Linked DNA regions of Homo sapiens: regions 2, 3 and 4 are each linked to region 1. Evidence: promoter capture Hi-C in human tissues and cell types (Jung and others, 2019). All regions are on one chromosome and are shown on one strand. Each heading gives the region's core, a stretch centred on a gene start or on the middle of the fragment in contact. The rest is flanking DNA. Distances are from core to core; before and after follow the strand shown.

The links. The method cuts DNA at HindIII sites, captures the fragments that hold promoters and counts their contacts. A contact is called where the count stands out against the background at its distance.
Region 2: a fragment that was not itself captured here is called in contact with the fragment with the promoter of ZNF347 in region 1 in 1 of the 25 tissues and cell types used here (adrenal gland).
Region 3: a fragment that was not itself captured here is called in contact with the fragment with the promoter of ZNF347 in region 1 in 7 of the 25 tissues and cell types used here (aorta, bladder, dorsolateral prefrontal cortex and 4 more).
Region 4: a fragment that was not itself captured here is called in contact with the fragment with the promoter of ZNF347 in region 1 in 1 of the 25 tissues and cell types used here (pancreas).

Annotation. Positions count from the first base shown.
Region 1 is chr19:53,157,628-53,160,571 of GRCh38, forward strand. ZNF347 (zinc finger protein 347) reads right to left here and starts at 1,426. Exons shown (of 5, transcript NM_032584.3): 1 at 1,382-1,426. RefSeq lists an enhancer at 1,329-1,623 and a silencer at 1,359-1,608. The HindIII fragment of the contact is 7,458 bases long and covers 1-2,944 here.
Region 2 is chr19:52,973,994-52,976,980 of GRCh38, forward strand. It overlaps the pseudogene ZNF702P. Among named protein-coding and RNA genes, the nearest start is that of ZNF816-ZNF321P, 13 kb to the left of the region's middle. The HindIII fragment of the contact is 7,849 bases long and covers 1-2,987 here.
Region 3 is chr19:53,408,876-53,411,644 of GRCh38, forward strand. The region is part of intron 3 of ZNF765-ZNF761 (ZNF765-ZNF761 readthrough); the gene reads left to right. ZNF765 (zinc finger protein 765) reads left to right here. Exons shown (of 4, transcript NM_001040185.3): 4 at 1-2,769. The coding sequence ends at 252. It also overlaps the pseudogene LOC124904793. Among named protein-coding and RNA genes, the nearest start is that of ZNF765-ZNF761, 15 kb to the left of the region's middle. The HindIII fragment of the contact is 3,821 bases long and covers 1-2,769 here.
Region 4 is chr19:53,004,469-53,007,168 of GRCh38, forward strand. LOC124904758 (a long non-coding RNA gene) reads right to left here. Exons shown (of 2, transcript XR_007067327.1): 2 at 2,092-2,700. It also overlaps the pseudogene ARPC1AP2. Among named protein-coding and RNA genes, the nearest start is that of ERVV-1, 8.1 kb to the right of the region's middle. The HindIII fragment of the contact is 4,230 bases long and covers 1-2,700 here.

The sequences.
Region 1 (2,944 bases), core at 176-2,675:
CTCTGTTGAATCTCCTCTTCCCTTCTACACCTCTTGCCCCACTCTCTGGCACCCCCAGATCCCAGGCCTCCCCCTGCTGTGGTTCTCCTTCTGCTCTCCTCGTCACCGGCTGTCCCCTCTTGCTGTCCCAGCACCACGCTGCTTGTCTGCCCTGGCTCCAAATCCCTCCTCCTCTCCCGGACTCTGTCTGAGGAGCCTCCCACTTTCTGGCCCTCTCCCTACCTTGCTGTCCTTCATGTCTCTGGACATCGAGCTTTTCTCTACATTTCCCCAGTTGCTTTTCTCCTTCTGCCTTCTCAGCTCCTTCTCTTACCATCTGCAAATCCCTCGCCCATCCTCTACTTTGCCATCTGGTTACGGGTTTCCCTCACTCTTTCCTCTCAGTTTTTCTACTTCTCTCTCTGTCTCTGCCCCTTTCTCTACCTGCTAATCCCCTTGGTCCACACATTCACAGGAAGGTTTGGACTAAGACGCCTGCATCTTGGAGGAGCGCATTTTCCAGGGGCTGGAGCTGGGCAGGCAAGAACACCGGGTGTCACAGGACAGGCCCCGGGCACCTCCCCAGCGCGGGCTCAGGAGAAGCGGGGACTGCGAAGGGGAGGCCTGGGGAGCAGCAGGGCCCGGCACGAGGAGGAGGGAGGTGGCGGGGCGACGGCGCCTTAGAAGAGGGGTGGGGTCTGCAGGATGCCAGGACCAGGCAGAGGACGCGGCCTCGCCGGTACCGGGGCTGAGGAGCTGCGCTCCAGGGGCCGACGAGGGCGAGGCTGGGAGGCACCCAGGGCGGGAATCCACCTCGCGGGCGAGGACTTTAAAAAGCCCGGGGCGGGAGGAGGGGTCAGGAAAGGGTTTTAAGCGGGAGGAAGACGCGAAAGGCCGGGGACAGGGAGAAGCCTCAGAGCTACTTCAACCCAAAGAGAAGCGACTCCGAACCCACACCGCGAGTCAGCTGGGGTGGAGGGCGCGGTGCGGGGATCTTAAGGTCTGTAGCTGCCGGGCGCAGTGGCTCACGCTTGTAACCCCAGCACTTTGGGAGGCCGAGGCGGGCGGATTACCTGAGGTCAGGAGTTCGAGATCAGCCTGGGCAACACGGTGAAACCCCGTCTCTACTAAAAATACAAAATTAGCCGGGCGTGGTGGCACATGCCTGTAATCCCAGCTACTCGGGAGGCTGAGGCAGGAGAATCGCTTGAACCTGGGAGGCGGAGGATGCGGTGAGCCGAAATCGCGCCATTGCACTCCAGCCTGGACAACAAGAGTAAATCTCCGTCTCACCAAAAAAAAAAAAAAAGAAAAAAAAAAAGGTCTGTAGCGAGCCCGGGAACTGGCTGCGGAAACGGGGCACGGCGGTTCGCAAGTTTAATCCATACTGAGGGACACTCACGCTCGGCGGCGTCACCCGCACCCAACACGATCCGCTTCCGGAACTGCAGAAAACTGCGCGTGCGCGGAAAAGAGCCCGGGCACTCTGGGGGCGGGGCCTGGGGAGAGGCGGGGTCTGCGGACGAAACGCTGGGGCGGAGCTGGGGCGGGGTCTGCGCTTCCCTCAGCCTGCCTAGCCCGCAGTCTCATTTTTCCCGGTTTAGAAACGCTGGAGTGTTCACTATGTCCCCGGGAGCACCGTTCCAATTTGAAGCAGTTTTAAGGTGAAAGAATAGACTTACGTGGACCACTTATGATAGAAACCAAAATGATTTCCTCTTACCAAGTTGAAAACGGTTTATGTTAAAATTGTTTGCCGGCGGGTTGGACCCAGTCCTGCTAGGGAGTCTGCTGCAGCTCAGGAACGGGGATCTGGGAATCGGGGATCTCGGTCTGGGAACTGGGATCTTAGTGGAGGATCCACGAGGCACGGCGATTGGATCCAGCAATTCCTGCAATTAAAATGTATTTAATTTAACTAAAATGTCTGGAAATTATCTCTGAGGATGATTCAAAGTAGAATGGGAAATGCAGCATCCTACCTGGACGGATATGCAATTTAATGCAGTAGCCCAACAGAACCTCCTTTACATTTCAAATCCCCATTCTCCCCAGTGGAAGAGTCAAGCCTGTGCTCAATTCATGGGAAGGTTAAGGCCGATAAGTTAGATCACCAAGGGCTGCTTTATTGTTCTTTAAAACATATATTTTTGTAAAGATGGGAGTCTCGGCCCAGGCTGGTCTCCAACTCTTGACCTCAAGCAATCCTCCTGCCTGGGCCTCCAAAATTGCTGGGATTACAGGAGTGAACTACTGTGCCCAGTCAACTACTGATTTAAACCATGTGAATTTTTAAAAAATAGAGATAAACTGCATTATTTTTGCTTATATTCGTTATTCCGTTCCACACTTGAAATGACTTAACCACAAACAACTTTGACATAATCTTTCTTTGCATCAAAATATGCTTAAATCAATAATTTCTAAATATCATGTAATTTCAAATTCACTTTATGGGCATTCTGAAGGGAACTTGACACAGTACTTTTTATTTTAAAATTGTAATCTATATTGGGTCTATTTTTTTGTTTTCTGTTTCTTAATGTTCTATCAGATGTGGATAACAGAGTGTGGAAAATAGTCACCACATGACAATTGGATTTATTTTCGCCTAAAGAATAGTTTTCCAGTATTTCTAACGTACCATCCCAGTACATTGACTGAACTAAAGACTCACAGGGATACCCTTTTTTCATGTTTATAGAGAACCTAGTTTATACCTGCTATTGTCTTATGTACATTTTCATGTCACACAATTTTATCTCCAAACAACACCCTTATTTATATACACCGTATAGTTTTCACTTTAACAAAATATTAAACGTTTCATCTGGGTTACAATATATGAAAGAAAAAAATAAAAGGGAAAATCATATTAAAAAATAAAAAGTAATTTTACTACAATTGAACATAAACCATGAAATATATTGCTCAATACCATAAACTGAAAATAACATTTCCATAG
Region 2 (2,987 bases), core at 465-2,964, 180 kb before region 1:
AAAAATACAAAAAATTAGCCGGGTGTGGTGACACGCACCTGTAGTCCCAGCTACTTGGGAGGCTGAGGCAGGAGAATCCCTTAAAATCAGGAGGTGGAGGTTGCAGTGAGCCAAGATCGCATCACTACGCTCCAGGCTGGGCGACAGACCGAGACTCCATCTTGAAATAAAAAAAAGAAAGAAAGAAAGAAAGAAAAAGAAATGAAAGAAGGCTAAAGAGTAACTCCAACCCACAAATATATATAAAGTTCTCCAGTGAAGGTAAATAAAAGGACAGATAGGCCAAGTGCAGTGGTGCAGCTTATAGCTTGCAGTGAACGCCAAGAATGAAGTACTCAGATAATTCCAGCTGAGTGGGGCGGGGAGCAAACCTTCTGAGAGAGTGCTGCCCCAGAATCCGTCCTCCAAGTATTTATTGAAAGGGCTTGTTTAGACCGGTCGCGGTGGCTCACGCCTGTAATCCCAGCACTTTGGGAGGCCGAGGCGGGCGGATCACGAGGTCAGGAGATCGAGACCATCCTGGATAACACAGTGAGACCCCGTCTCTACTAAAAATACAAAAAAATTAGCCGGGCGTGGTGGCGGGCGCCTGAAGTCACAGCTACTCAGGAGGCTGAGGCAGGAGAATGGTGTGAACCCGGGAGGCAGAGCTTGCAGTGAGCCGAGATCGCACCACTGCACTCCAGCCTGGGCGACAGAGCGAGACTCCGTCTCAAAAAAAAAAAAAAAAAAAAAAGGGCTTGTTTAAACTACACTTCAGACAAACAAAAAACATACACCATGGAGCTCTTTGCAGTCGGGTCGTGAGGCACTATGGCCTTGTAAAAGCACTCAGACCACATTCACAGGAGACTGTTTCAGCGTTTCTTATCACACATTCTACTCCTTGTCCTGATTTCAGGGTCAAGGAGTGACAGTCTCATACACAAACAACATACACACAGTGCCTCAGTAATTTTCCATTCCTCAATCTCAAATGCCTTGTACATAAGCTTATGTTGCCGCGCATCCATCAAAGTTGGTTCACACCCGTAATCTCAGCACTTTGGCAGGCCAAGGCAGGTGGATCACCTGAGTTTGGGAGTTCGAGACCAGCTTGACCAACAAGGAGAAACCTTGTTTCTACTAAAAATACAAAATTAGCCGGGCATGATGGTGCATGCCTGTAATCCCAGCTACTCGGGGGGCTGTGGCAAAAGAATCACTTGAAACTGGGAGGCGGAGGTTGCAGTGAGCTGAGATTGTGTCATTGCACTTCAGCCTGGGCGACAGGAGCAAAACTTTGTCTCAGAAATAAATAAATAAATAAATAAATAAATAAGTAAGTAAATAGACAGATACAGAAACCTGTATAAGTGTATCTTTTCTTTATAACTCAACTTTTTTTTCCAATTATTTAGCAGAAAAAAGCACAAAAAAAACACTGTACATATATGTTAATGAAAATGCAACATATACAGAAATAATTCTGACATAAATAACAAAGAGTTCTAGTGGAGAAAGTAGTCTTTGCAGGTTATGGAAATTTTTGTTTGTTTCTTTCTTTGTTTTTTTGAGACGGAGTCTTGCTCTGTCGCCCAGGCTGGAGTGTAATGGTGCCGTTTCGGCTCCTGCAATCTTTGCCTCTTGAATTCAAAGATTTCAGCCTCTTGAGTAGCTGGGATTACAGGTGCCCACTGCACTTCGAATTTTCAGTAGAGACAGAGTTTTGCCATGTTAGCCAGGCTGGTGTTGAACTCCTGACTTCAGGTGATTTGCCCACCTTGGCCTCCCAATGTGCTGAGATTACAGGGGTGAGCCACTGCACCTGGCCAGGTAATGGAAATTTCAAGTTTTGTTATTATGCTATAACTTCAAGATGTTTAACACACCTTCAACAATAACCTCCCCCTAAATATCTATACAACACACTTCGGTTCTTCATATTGAAAGGAATGGACACTAACGTGGTTGTTATGTTCACATTGGAATCATGCTTAAGCCACTTATATGTTTACTAAAAACTAAAAGACAAAACTATTTAAAATAATAATAATGGCTGGGCACGGTGGCTCACGCCTGTAATGCCAGTACTTTGGGAAACCGAGACAGGTGGATCACTTGAGATCAGGAGTTCGAGAACATCCTGGCTAATGTGATGAAACCCCGTCTCTACTAAAAACACAAAAATTAGCTGGGCGTGGTGGTGAGCGCCTGTAGTCACAGCTACTCAGAAGCTGGGACACAAGAATCGTTTGAGCCCGGGAGGTGGAGGCTACGGTTAGAAAGATCGCACCACTGCACTGTAGCCCGAGTGACAGAGTGAGACTTCACCACAAAAAAAAGTAAATAAGAAGAGAGTCAAAGCATGTCTACAGAAAAAAAGTAATTAAACACAAAAAGTAGGAAATGAGAAATGAAGAACAACAATAAAAACCTACAAGAAATACAGATAATATGTAACAAAAACGCAACGGTAAGGTCTTCTCCATCAGTAATTATTAAAATGTAAATATTTAACTCTGCATTCAGGAGGCAAAGACTGGCTGAATCAACAGGAACCAACTACATGTTGTCCACAGAAGACTCATATTAGCCCTAAGGACACACATACGCTAAAATTTAAAAAATAAAAACCAATAATTAGGTATGGGGGTTGGGGCCTATAATCCCAGCTACTCAGGAGGCCAAAGAGGACCTCTTGAGCCCAGGAGATCAAGACCAACTTCAACAACACAGCATAAAACTGAAAAATAACCTGGAGAAAGCAGGGAAGGATAGTCTGCTGGTTTACCATTTTGATCCCTGGTACAGACAGCTCCTCTATTTGTGCCCCCTGGCTTATAGCACAGGCTCCATAGCTACTGAGTCAGTGAATGAATGAGAATGACTGAGTGATACTAGTATGTCTTCTCTGGGGTCTCATGTGTGCCAGGGTCCTATTTGACCTTGGAATGGTCTTCATCGTGATGAGGGAGCTGAGCAGGAGCAGCTGAGCGGGACAGCCC
Region 3 (2,769 bases), core at 270-2,769, 250 kb after region 1:
GAAGAATGTGACAAAGCCTACAGTTTCAAATCAAACCTTGAAATACATCAGAAAATTCATACTGAAGAGAATCCTTACAAGTGTAATGAGTGTGGCAAGACCTTCAGCCGGACGTCATCCCTTACATACCATCATAGACTTCATACTGGACAGAAACCTTACAAATGTGAAGATTGTGATGAAGCTTTCAGTTTCAAATCAAACCTTGAAAGACATAGGAGAATTTATACTGGAGAGAAACTACACGTGTAATGAGTGTGGTAAGACCTTCAATCAGGAGTTAACCCTTACATGCCATCGTAGGCTTCATAGTGGAGAGAAACCTTACAAATATGAAGAACTTGACAAAGCTTACAATTTCAAATCAAACCTTGAAATACATCAGAAAATTCGTACTGAAGAGAATCTTACAAGTGTAATGAGTGTGGCAAGACCTTGAGTCATACGTCATCTTTTGTGTACCATCATAAACTTCATAGTGGAGAGACCTTACAAATGTGAAGAATGTGAAGAAGCTTTCTGTTTCAAATCCAACCTTGAAAGACATAGGAGAATTCACACTGGTGAGAAACCTTACAGGTGTAATGAGTGTGGCAAGACCTTCAGCCAGACCTCATCCCTTACATGCCATTGTAGACTTCGTACTGGAGAGAAACCTTACAAATGTGAAGAATTTGAGTTTTCCATTTCAAATCAAACCTTGAAAGACAAAGGAGAATTCATACTGGAGAGAAACCATACAAGTGTAATGAGTGTGGCAAGACCTTTAGTCAGAACTCATACCTTACACGCCATCGTAGACTTCATACTGGAGGATACCTTACAAATGTAATGAGTGTGGCAAGACCTTTAGTCAGAACTCATACCTTACATGCCATCATAGACTTCATACTGGAGAGATACCTTAAAAGTGTAGTGAGTGTGGCAAGACCTTTAGTCTGAAGTCATACCTTACGCACCATCGTAGACTTCATACTGGAGAGGTACCTTACAAGGATAATGAGTGTAGAAAAACCTTTCATGGGCAGTCAGCATTTTACAAATGTAATGATTGTCACCAAGTCTTGAGTAATGCTACAACTATTGCAAATCATTGGAGAATCCATAATGAAGAGAGATCCTACAAGTGTGATAAATGCAGAATAAATGCAGAAAATTTTTCAGACATCCTTCATACCTTTGCAGTTCATGGGTGAAGTCGTATTAGAAACCTTACAAATGTGAAGAATGTGATGAAGCTTTCAGATTCAAATCAAACCTTGATAGTCATAGAATTCATACTAGAGAGAAACCTTAGCAGTGTAATGAACGTGGCAAGGTTTTAAATCAAAAAGCAAAGCTTGCACATCATCATAGAATTCATACTGGAGATAAACGTTACAAATGTGAAGCATGTGACAAAGTTTACAGTCGCAAATCAAGCCTCCAAAGACAGGAGAATTCATACTGGAGAGAAAGCTTACATATGTGAAGAATGTCACCAAGTTTTCAGTCACACTCAAACCTTGAAAGACACAGGAGAATTCCTACTGGAGAGATAGCATAAAAATGTAAGAGTTTGTGACAAGGCTTTCAGGCATAATTCGCACCTGGCACAACATCCTAGAATTCACATTGGAGAGAAAGCTTACAAGTATAATGAATGTGACAGGTCTTTAGTGGGCAGTCAACACTTGTTTACCATCAGGCAATCCATGGTGTAGGGAAACTTTACTTATGTAATGATTGTCACAAAGTCTTCAGTTACACTACAACCATTGCGAATCATTGGAGAATCCATAATGAAGAGAGATCATACTAGTTTAATAAATTTGGCAAATTTTTCAGACATTGTTCATAACTTGCAGTTCATCGGCGAACTCGTACTGGAGAGAAACCTTACAAATGTCATGATTGTGACAAGGTCTCAGTCAAGCTTCATTCTATGCAAAACATAGGAGAATTCATACAGGAGAGAAACCTCACAAGTGTGATGATTGCGGCAAAGCCTTTAATTCACATTCACACCTCACTAGACATCAGAGAATGCATACTGGACAGAAATCTTATAAATGTCATCAGTGTGCCAAAGTCTTCAGTCTGAGCTCACTCCTTGCAGGATATCAGAAAATTCATTTTGGAGATAGTTGTTCCAAATACAATGTGTATAGCAAACCATCAAGCATTAATTGACACTAGAGTCAGTTCAGCATTGACTTGAGTTTGACTTAACATTGAGTTGAAGCCTTAATTGACATTAAAGTGTTTATGTTAAGAGGACTGGGCCAGGCACAGTGGCTCACACCTGTAATCTGAGCGCTTTGGGAGGCCAGCACCGGTAGATCACTTGAGTTCAGGAGTTTGAGGTCAGCCTGGCCAACAGACGTGAGCCATTTTCCCAGCCTGTTTTTTGTTTCTTTAACAAAAACTGATAGGGATTTTTTTTTTTTTTTTTGAGATGGAGTTTCACTCTTGTTGCCCAGGCTGGACTGCAATGGAGCGATCCCAGCTCACTACAACCTCCGCCTCCCAGGTTCAAGCAATTCTCCTGCCTCAGCCTCCAGAGTAGCTAGGATTACAGGCATGAGCCACCACGCCCAGCTAATTTTGTATTTTTAGTAGAGATGGGGTTTCTCCATGTTGGTTAGGCTGGTCTTGAACTCCCAGCCTCAGATGATCCACCCACCTCGGCCTCCCAAAGTGCTGGGATTACAGGCGTGAGCCACTGCGCCCAGCCCCAGTGATAAGGATTTTTATGGGTACCGTGTTGAATCTAAATCACATTGGGTT
Region 4 (2,700 bases), core at 88-2,587, 150 kb before region 1:
AGTCCTCAGCTTGGATTGGCATCCCAACAATGTTTTGCTGGCAGCAGGATCATGTGACTTCAAATGCAGAGTGTTTTCTGCTTACATTAAAGAAGTGGATGAAAAGCCAGCCAGCATGCCCTGGGGCACCAAGATGCCTTTTGGGCAGCTGATGTCAGAGTTTGGTGGCAGTGGCACCGGTGGCTGGGTCCACGGGGTAAGCTTCTCTGCCAGTGGGAGCCGCCTGGCCTGGGTCAGCCACGACAGCACCGTTATCTGTTGCTGATGCCTCAAAAAGTGTGCAGGTCTCAATTCTGAAGACAGAGTTCCTACCACTCCTGAGTGTGTCATTTGTCTCAGAGAACAGTGTCGTGGCTGCTGGCCATGACTGCTACCCAATGCTCTTTAATTATGATGACCGCGGCTGCCTGACCTTCGTCTCCAAGTTAGACATTCCAAAACAGAGCATCCAACGCAACATGTCTGCCATAGAACACTTCCGCAACATGGACACGAGGGCCACGATTGAGGACCACAACATGGCCTTGGAGAGGCTGCACCAGAATAGCATCACTCACGTCTCTATTTATGAGGTAGACAAGCAAGGTTGTCGCAAATTTTGCACTACTGGCATTGATGGAGCCATGACAATTTGGGATTTCAAGACCCTCGAGTCTTCCATCCAGGTCCTCCACATAATGTGAAGCTGAGTGAGCCTTCGCCATCTAGCATGACAAACTGTGGCCAACCGCAGCTGTGCCGTGGCACGATGGCGAGGAAGCTAGACCCAAGGAAACACTGAAAACACATAGCAGGCCAATGCTGTGTGGTTTTGTTTGAATATAAAATTGGTGAAAATGCTGGTTTTTTTAAAGCAGTATTTTTTTTTTTATTTTTTTATTTTTTTTGCGATTTCATTCCATTCTTGACCAAAGCTTCCCTTTAAGTAGTTTATTATGGAAAATTGTCACACTAACTTAAAAGACAGGGTGAGGGAGATATGTAAATTGTCCACTAGAAAATTAAATAAAAGAACTAAATGTGGGAAAAAAAAAAAGAAAGAAAGAAAATACAAGCACTTAGGTCGGGTGCAGTGGCTTACGCCTGTAATCCCAGCACTTTGGGAGGCTAAGGCGGGTGGATCACCTGAGGTGGGGAGTTTGAGACCAGCCTGACCAACATGGAGAAACCCCATCTCTACTAAAAATACAAAATTAGCCAAGCACAGTGGTGCATGCCTGTAATCCCAGTTACTCGGGAGGTTGAGGCAGAAGAATCGCTTGAACCCAGGAGGTGGAGGTTGCAGTGAGCCGAGATGGCGCCACTGCATGCCAGCTTGGGCAACGAAAGCGGAAAAAAGAGGCCGGGCATGGTGGCTCACACCTTTGGGAGCACTTTGGGAGGCTGAGGTGGGTAAATCACCTGAGGTCCGGAGTTTGAGACCAGCCTGGCCAACATGGTGAAACCCATCTCTACTAAAAATTAAAAAAAAAATTATCTGGGCATGCTGGCGGGCGCCCATAATCCCAGCTACTTGGGAGGCTAAGGCAGGAGAATCCCTTGAACCTGGGAGGCAGAGGTTACGGTGTGCCGAGATTGCACCACTACACTCCAGCCTGGGTGACAGAGTGAGACTCCCTCCCCACCGCCCCCCCAAAAAAAAAGAAAAAAGAAAAGAAAATACTAGCACTAATTTATATGTCAGATTCATGTCACATCTCAAATTCATCTAAATTTTCTTGACATCCCTTTTTATACCAGTGGAGCCCTGATGAAGACACTTAATAGAAGTTTTCTCTCTATCAGAGAAATAAGTTGATGAGAATAAACTCAACGAAGGTGAAAATTCTGTTTTTTTCTGTGACCTGGGGGAAAAAGCTTAAGGTGAATTTACATTCAGATTGGTTATACAGAGAGAACATACAGAAGTGGATGAACTCGGTGTAATTAAGTTTTTCTATCCACAAACCAGGTGAAAGTATTGCAGGAGGCAGATAGCGAGGCATGAGCAGGTAAGGAGATTCTGTGTCACCCGCAAGGGGTCCTGATCCAGAACCTAAGAGAGGGTTCTTGGATCTCACGCAAGGAAGAATTCAAGGTGAATCCATACAGTAAAGTGAAAGCAAGTTTATTAAGAGAGTAAAGGAATAAAGTATGGCTACTCCATAGTCAGAGCAGCCTCCTGTTTCATCCTATGACTAAGAATGCCTTCACTTACTGGGAATGTAACCCAGCAGGTCTCAGGCTTATTTTCTCCAGCCCCTATTCCAGATGGAATTGCTCTGGTTCAAATGTCTCTGACACTTTGGAAAGGAATATTTAGAAATGCAACTCACTGGCCAGGCACAGTGGCTCATGCCTGTAATCCCAGCACTTTGGGAGGCCGAGACAGGTGGATCACGAGGTCAGGAGATCAAGACCATCCTGGCTAACACAGTGAAACTCCATCTCTACTAAAAATACAAAAACTTAGCTGGCCTGGTGGTGGGCGCATGTAGTCCCAGCTACTCAGGAGGCTGAGGCAGGAGAATGGCGTGAACCCGGGAGGCGGAGCTTGCAATGAGCCGAGATCGGGCCACTGCACTCCAGCCTGGGTGACAGAGCGAGACTCTGTCTCAAAAAAAAAAAAAAAAGAAAAGAAAAAAGAAAAAAGAAATGCAACTCACTGAGAGTCTCCTTAAAGATGCTGCCCACTGACAGCAAGAAAAGATCAGTGGCTAC